Linked DNA regions of Homo sapiens: region 1 is linked to region 2. Evidence: promoter capture Hi-C in 16 types of primary human blood cells and fetal thymus (Javierre and others, 2016). All regions are on one chromosome and are shown on one strand. The core of a region is centred on a gene start or on the middle of the fragment in contact, and the rest is flanking DNA. Distances in the headings are between cores, read along the strand shown. Region 1 has its middle 13 kb from the start of PANK3. Region 2 holds the start of HMMR-AS1 (HMMR antisense RNA 1).

The links. Contacts are between HindIII fragments. The CHiCAGO score rates a contact against its expected background, and 5 or more counts as called.
Region 1: a fragment that was not itself captured here is called in contact with the fragment with the promoter of HMMR-AS1 in region 2 in 1 of 17 cell types (naive CD8 T cells); the score reaches 6.4 in naive CD8 T cells.

Annotation. Positions count from the first base shown.
Region 1 is chr5:168,590,735-168,594,679 of GRCh38, reverse strand. No RefSeq gene overlaps it. Among named protein-coding and RNA genes, the nearest start is that of PANK3, 13 kb to the right of the region's middle. The HindIII fragment of the contact is 3,029 bases long and covers 1-2,793 here.
Region 2 is chr5:163,491,536-163,495,734 of GRCh38, reverse strand. HMMR-AS1 (HMMR antisense RNA 1) reads left to right here and starts at 1,677. Exons shown (of 4, transcript NR_109892.1): 1 at 1,677-2,036; 2 at 2,186-2,292. It overlaps HMMR (hyaluronan mediated motility receptor), which reads right to left. Exons shown (of 18, transcript NM_001142556.2): 18 at 3,794-4,199. The HindIII fragment of the contact is 5,178 bases long and covers 1-4,199 here.

The DNA.
Region 1 (3,945 bases), core at 30-2,529, 5.1 Mb before region 2:
CCACAGCCAATATCATAATGAATGGGCAAAAACTGGAAGCATTCCCTTTGAAAATTGGCACAAGACAGGGATGCCCCCTTTACCACTCCTATTCAACATAATGTTGGAAGTTCTGGCCAGGGCAATCAGGCAAGAGAAAGAAATAAAGGGCATTCAATTAGGAAAAGAGGAAGTCAAATTGTTCCTGTTTGCGGATAACATGATTGTGTATTTAGAAAACCCCATCGTCTCAGCCCAAAATCTCCTTAAGCTGATAAGCAACATCAGCAAAGTCTCAGGATACAAAATCAATGTGCAAAAATCACAAGCATTCCTATACACCAATAACAGGCAACCACAGAGCCAAATCATGACTGAACTCCCATTCACAATTGCTACAAAGAGAATAAAATACCTAGGAATCCAACTTACAAGGGATGTGAAGGACCTCTTCAAGGAGAACTACAAACCACTGCTCAACGAAACAAAAGAGGACACAAACAAATGGAAGAACATTCCATGCTCATGGATAGGAAGAATCAATATCGTGAAAATAGCCATACTGCCCAAGGTAATTTATAGATCCAGTGCCATCCCCATCAAGCTACCAATGACTTTCTTCACAAAACTGGAAAAAAACTACTTTAAAGTTCACATGGAACCAAAAAAGAGCCTGCATTGCCAAGACAATCCTAAGCAAAAAGAACAAAGCTGGAGGCATCACACTACCTGACTTCAAACTATGCTACAAGGCTACAGTAACGAAAACAGCAAGGTACTGGTACCAAAACAGAGATATAGACCAATGGAACAGAACAGAGGCCTCAGAAATAACACCATACATCTACAACCATGTGATCTTTGACAAACCTAACAAAAACAAGAAATGGGGAAAGGATTCCCTATTTAATAAATGGTGCTGGGAAAACTGGCTAGCCATATGTAGAAAGCTGAAACTGGATCCCTTCCTTACACCTTATACAAAAATTAATTCAAGATGGATTAAAGACTTAAATATTAGACCTAAAACCATAAACACCCTAGAAGAAAACTAGGCAATACCATTCAGGACATAGGCATGGGCAAGGACTTCATGACTAAAATACCAAAAGCAATGGCAACAAAAGCCAGAATAGACAAATGGGTTCTAACTAAACTAAAGAGCTTCTGCACAGTAAAAGAAACTACCATCAGAGTGAACAGGCAACCTACAGAATGGGAGAAAATTTTTGCAATCTACCCCTCTGACAAAGGGCTGATATCCAGAATCTACAAAGAACTTAAACAAATTTACAAGAAAAAATCAAACAACCGCATCAAAAAGTGGGAAAAGGATATGAACAGACGCTTCTCAAAAGACATTTACGCAGCCAACAGACACATGAAAAAATGCTCATCATCACTGGCCATCAGAGAAATGCAAATCAAAACCACAATGAGATACCATCTCACACCAGTTAGAATGGCGATCACTAAAAGGTCAGGAAACAACAGGTGCTGGAGAGGATGTGGAGAAATAGGGACACTTTTATACTGTTGGTGGGACTATAAACTAGTTCAACCATTATGGAAGACAGTGTGGCGATTCCTCAAGGATCTAGAACTAGAAATACCATTTGACCCAGCCATCCCATTACTGGGTATATACCCAAAGGATTATAAGTCATGCTGCTATAAAGACACATGCACACATATGTTTACTGCAGCACTATTCACAATAGCAAAGACTTGGAACCAACCCAAATGTCCATCAATGATAGACTGGATTAAGAAAATGTGGCACATATACACCATGGAATACTATACAGCCATAAAAAATGATGAGTTCATGTCCTTTGTAGGGACATGGATGAAGCTGGAAACCATCATTCTGAGCAAACTATCACAAGGACAGAAAACCAAACACCGCATGTTCTCACTCATAGGTGGGAACTCAACAATGAGAACGCTTGGACACAGGGTGGGGAACATCACACACAGGGGCCTGTCATGGGGTAGGGGGAGGGGGGAGGGATAGCATTAGGAGATATACCTAATGTAAATGACGTGTTAATGGGTGCAGCACACCAACATGGCACACGTATACACATGTAACAAACCTGCACGTTGTGCACATGTACCCTAGAACTTAAAGTATAATAAAAATATATACATTCTAAATGTATCTCAAATCATAAAGAATCTATTAGCAGGAATAAAAACATTCTGTGTGACAAGAAAAAAAATCAGAAAATGCATGTAAATCCCTTAGCTCAGTGCCTGCTACATAGTAAGTGCTCAACAAATAGCTGTCTTCATTGTTACTTGGTCATTGATATTGGTTGAGCTGGTGTTGACTGGCATGGCCTCAAATAATGAATAGGACTTCTAGGTAAGAGTACTAAGAATTCTATTAAGCATGCTGGGCAAGTGCCAGTTTGCCTTGTGCAACAGGCTCTGTGGCTGGATAACTCTGGAAGCAGAAATTCCAAACAGAGTCTAGCTATTTGTTTGGTTCCAGATAGAAATCACTCCAGTTCAGCTGCTATTGGAAACTTACTCATCTGCTAACCTTGAGGATCAGTGGCTGTGAAGGTAAACAGGAAAAAAGTAAACAAGGTAAAAGAGACAGACTTCTGTATCATGAGCGAGATCAGCCTTGCTCACAAAGGCTCAACTTCTCTAGAATGGACAGAGAATCTAGCTTGATTTTATATTAGCTAGTCATTTTTGCCAGTTAAATGTTAATTAAAAATTGACTTGCACAAAAACTGAAAGTTTGTGCTGAAGAACATCCATAGCAAAAGGTGGTGAGGCTCCTGCCACAAGGAAGCTTGTTATCTAGTAAATGCTATGAATTCACTCATTCTTACATTTATTCTCTCATTCCACCACCAGAATGCCTTCCCTTAGCTGGTTTCTTTGCCTCCTGTCCCGCCTAAGCTGTTATCTTTACCACAGCCAGAGTAAACTTTCCAAAATACAGTTCTAATCCTGACATTCCCCTGCTTTTAAATCTTTGGTGGGTCCCTTTTCCTTGAACAAAGTCCAAACTCTAACATGGTTCACAAGAAACTTTATGATCGGGCTTGAAACCTCCCAGTGGCTTTGAATTGCTTTTGAAATAGAATCCACACTCTTCCTTGTGTCCTACTAGGGAACTCAGGCAGCTTAAGGAACTTGCTTAAGTGGTAGAGCCCACTCTGACTGATTCCAAAGCCCATGCTCCAAACCAGAGCTGCTCAAAGCAGCTTTACAGTGAACTATTTGTTAATGGTCCAAGCCTAGGGCAGTGACAGCCTGGGTCAAAATGTAAATCAATGCAATGCTACCTTCATGGAGAAAGTCTTACTGTGAAGAAAATACCAGCTGAACTACAAACAGTATGATTAGTGATGCAGTTGACTTACCTCCTGCTCCATATCTTGTTGGAAGCCAAAAGCAGTCTGGGGATCAGCAGCCATCTGTGTACCACACTTTGAATAGCATTGCTCTAACCTGACCCCCACGCTGTACAGTAAGTCCTCACTTAACATTGTCAATAAAATCTTGGAAACGCAACTTCAAGCAAAACGATGTATAAGGAAACCAATTTGGCCATAGGCTAATTGATACTAACAAGAGTTAAATTCCTATGGCATAGTTCTGGTAACAGAATCATCACTAAACTTCTCATAAAGACTGAAAACACTTCTAAAAGTTAAACATTGAAACAAATGTGAGCTATACAGTCATTTAGGAAAGATTAATAAAAAGAGATAAGAGAATTATTTACCCAATTAATCCAGTTCAAGGTCCTGGGTGGCTGGGGCCTATCCTGGCAGCTCAGGGCACAAGGCAGGCACTAGCCCTGGACAGGACGTTATCCCATTGCAGAGCGCACTCACGCACACACCCACATTCACTCACACTGGGACCTTTCAGACACACCAATTAACCTCAGGTGTGCATCTTTGGGATAGTATCCTAGTGAGAGGAAAACAGAGT
Region 2 (4,199 bases), core at 428-2,927:
TAAGCCCCTAAATTCTGATGAGTCTTCTTTGCTAGTGGAGAGGCTTCTCAACCCCATTGGAAGCAGCTTCTCCATTTCCAGTGATAGTACCCTCCAACCTGTCTGTGATGATTAACACTGCATTGCCTGAGGAAATTGTAATGGCCTCCTTTGAGGCAGTTGATATGCAAGACAATGTTGGTTCTCCTCCAGACCCAACTCCACCACCCTTCTTTGCTTCTAGACCTGAAACTAGACAGGAACAAAGTGTTACCTATGAAGAGATGTGCTATACTCCAAAGAGTTACTCAAAGTCTCTAATTTATACAGACAAAAATCTGGGAACATATGTCGGAATGGATAATAAAGGTGTTGGAAAATGATGGAAGGAACATAAAGTTGGATCAGGTCAAATTTATTGACATGGGCTCACTAAGCCAAGATTCTGCATTTAACATTGCAGCTTGGGGAGTTAGAAAGGGTGCTCACAGTTTGATTGGCTTACTAAAACATGGAAAAGATGAATTGGAAGTGCTGGACATGCCTTGGTTTAATCTAGAGGATGGGATTAAAAGGTTTAGGAATATTGGGAAATTAGATTTTTCACTTAAGAACTACTCATCTCGGGTGGATCATGAGGTCAGGAGATCGAGACCATCCTGGCTAACAAGGTGAAACCCCGTCTCTACTAAAAATACAAAAAATTAGCCGGGCGCGGTGGCGGGCGCCTGTAGTCCCAGCTACTCGGGAGGCTGAGGCAGGAGAATGGCGTGAACCCGGGAAGCGGAGCTTGCAGTGAGCAGAGATTGCGCCACTGCAGTCCGCAGTCCGGCCTGGGCGACAGAGCGAGACTCCGTCTCAAAAAAAAAAAAAAAAAAAGAACTACTCATCCACACTGGGAAGGTCAAGAAAGCATACCTTTCACCAATACTATGAGAAAGAAATTTGCGAGGAGAGCTCCAGCATCTTTTTCAGAACTCTGTGATGGCTCTTCTCTGTAGGCCAGAGCTCACTGCAGTCACTGAACTGGAAAACCTAAATATAATGGAAGTAAAGGATCCCAGGGTGGCAAGGGTCAAGTAATGGGACTCAACCACCAAAGGCAAGGTGAAGTGGTTATCATAATGACAGAGCCAAAGGAACAATTAGAATAATCTCACTTGTAGACCTATGCTTTGGCTAGTTGATCATGGTTTTCCTAGACGTGAAATAGATAGGAAGCCTACTGAAGTCTTAACTTGATCTGTATAAGCAGAAAACTTCTAAGTCAAGTGACGAAAGTTGAACTCGAATCATAAAAACAGAATCGTGGTCCCTTAATTCCCAAACTTGAGCCACTTTATAGAGCCCAAAACCCTTTGATTGAAGGGGAGGACCTCAAAGGGACCCTGGTCCATAACCAAATGTTTATACTGTTAGTCTTTCTCCTAGTCCTCCGCAAAGGGATGTACAACCTTTACCAACGTAACTGTGCATTAGAAAAAGGGAATAATCAGATCTTTTGTGAACTAGTGGACACTGGCTCTCTGAAGTGACACTAATTTCAGGAGATCCAAAGTGCTACTGTCAGGGTAGCAGCTTATGGAGGTCAGGTGATCAGCAGAGTTTTAGCTTAGTTCCATCTCACAATGGGCCCAGTGAATTCCTGAACCTATCCTGTGGTTATCCCCTAGTTCTAGAATGTATAATTAGAATACAGTCAGCAGCTGACAGAATAATCCACACATTGGTTTCCTTACCTATGGAGTGAGGGCTATTATGGTGGAAAAGGCCAAGTAGAAGCCACTAGAACTATCTGTACTTAGGAAAATAGTAAACCAAAAGCAATGCTCAATTCCTATAGGGACTGAAGAGATTAGTGCCACCATAAGTACTTGAAGGAAGGCGGGGTGGTGATTCCTACCATATGTCCATTCAACTCGCCTATTTAGCCTGGGCAGAAGACAGATGGATTATCACAAACTTAACTAGGTGGTGACTCCAATTGCAGCTACAGTACCAGATGTATTGCTTGAGCAAATTAACACAACTCCTGGTTCCTGGTATGCAGCTACCTGGTATGATCTGGCAAATGCCTTTCTCTCCATCCCTGTCTATAAGGCCGACCAGAAGCAGTTTGCTTTTAGCTAGCAAGGCTAGAAATGCACCTTCATGTCCTACCTCAGGGCATATCAACTCACCAGCCCTGTCCTAATTTTGTTCACAGGAATCTTGATTGCCTTTTCTTTCCACATCACATTGGTCCATTACATTGACGACATTATGCTCACTGGACCTAATGAGTGAGACATAGCAACTACTCCAGACCTATTGGTAAGACATTTGCATGTCAGAAGTGGGAAGTAAATCCAACAAAAATTCAAAGGCTTTTTCATGTCTCAGTAAAATTTCTAGGGGTCCAGTGGTATGAGGCATGTTGAGATACCCCTTCTAAGGTAAGTTTTTGCATCTGCCCCCTCCTACAACCAGAAGAGGCATGACATGCGGCAGGCCTCTTTGGATTTTGAAGACGTTTCCTCATTTGAGTTTGTTACTCTGGCCCATTTACTGAGTGACTTGAAAAGCTGCTAGTTTGGAGTAGGACTCAGAATAGGAAAGGTTCTGCAATAGGTCCAGGCTATTGTGTAAGCGGCTTTGTTGCTTGGGACATATGAACTTGCAGATCCAGTGGTATTTGAAGTGTCAGTGGCAGATAGAGATGCTGTTGGAACCTTTGGCAGGCCCACATAGATGAATCTCAGTGCAGACCCTTAGTATTTTGAAGAAAGACCTGTTATCCTATGCAGATAACTACTCTTTTGAGAAACAGCTCTGGGCCTACTGCTGGGCTTCAGTAGGGACTGAATGCTTACCGTGGTCAATTAAGTTACCATGCGACCTGAGCTGCCCATCATGAGCTGGGTGTTATCTGACCCACAAGCCATAATGCTGGGTGTGGACAGCAGGAGTACATCATCAAAGAACGTGTTATGTATGTGACTGGGCCCAGGCAGGACCTGAAGGCAAAAGCAAGTTACATGAAGAAGTGACCCAAATGCCCATGGTCCCTGTTCCTGCTACCTTGCCTTTTTTCTCCCAAGCTCATGGAGAGTTCCCTATGATGAGTTGACAGGAAGAAACAACATGGGCCTAGTTTATAGATGGTTCTGTGTGATATGTAGGCATCACCTGAAAGTGGATAGCCATAGTACACCAGCCCTTCTCTGGGACATCCCTGAAGGATAGTGGTAAAGAGAAATCCTCCCAGTGGGCAGAACTTTGGGCAGTGCACCTGGTTGTTCATCTTGTTACCCCATGTTGGCTAAAAGTAGAGGTCCTGAAGCATTTTATTATTTATTTATATATTTTTTAGAGATGAGGTATCACTATGTTGCTCAGGCTGGTCTTGAATTCCACCTGCCTCAGCCTCCCAAAGTGTTGGGATTATAGGCGTGAGCCACTGGGCCCAGCCCATTAAACCATTTTATTTTATTAGACAATTTTTCTAATTTCTACGTTTCTTCTGAACTTAATTTAAAAAACTGTATTTTAAAATTCAACCATGTATTAAGATCTAATAAAATAATAATGAAAAGCAATTCTGACTGATAGTCCCTGTTGAGCCATCAGTGAGAACACATTATAAAAAAGGTAGCTTATAAATATCATACCAATGATATGTGCAAAACAGGCATTTTAGAGAGAGATTTACCACTTTCCAAACAGTATCTTTTGTGATTCTGGGGACAAGGTGGTGTGGGTAGGGTAGAGATGATAAATACATCTTACATAGAAGCATGAATGTAACTTCATAAAATACAAGCTGAAAAATTAATTGGTTAAATGACTTACTGTGTAATTTTATTTCATATTACACAAATGTTAATCAAATGCTGAGTAGACATGCAGATGACAAGCAGTATATGACAAACTCTGAAGAAATAGTTACATGTAGAGTTTCTCAGATTTTTAGTGTATCTAAGAATTAACTGAAGAGTTTGTTAAGAATGCAGGCTTAAAGGCCAATCCACAGATTATAATTTCATACAAACAGGATGGAGCCTAAGAACCTGTAAATTATTAAACAACTGATTAAAAATAGAGAGGTTTCTATGAAGTTAGGCTTGTCCTTATTTCTTATTTGAACTGGACAAGTAGAAGGATAATAGGTAGGACCAAGTGAGCATTATCAGAATCAAAGTAGAGGCAATAACAAGCCAAGGTGTTTTAGCCTAGCTAAA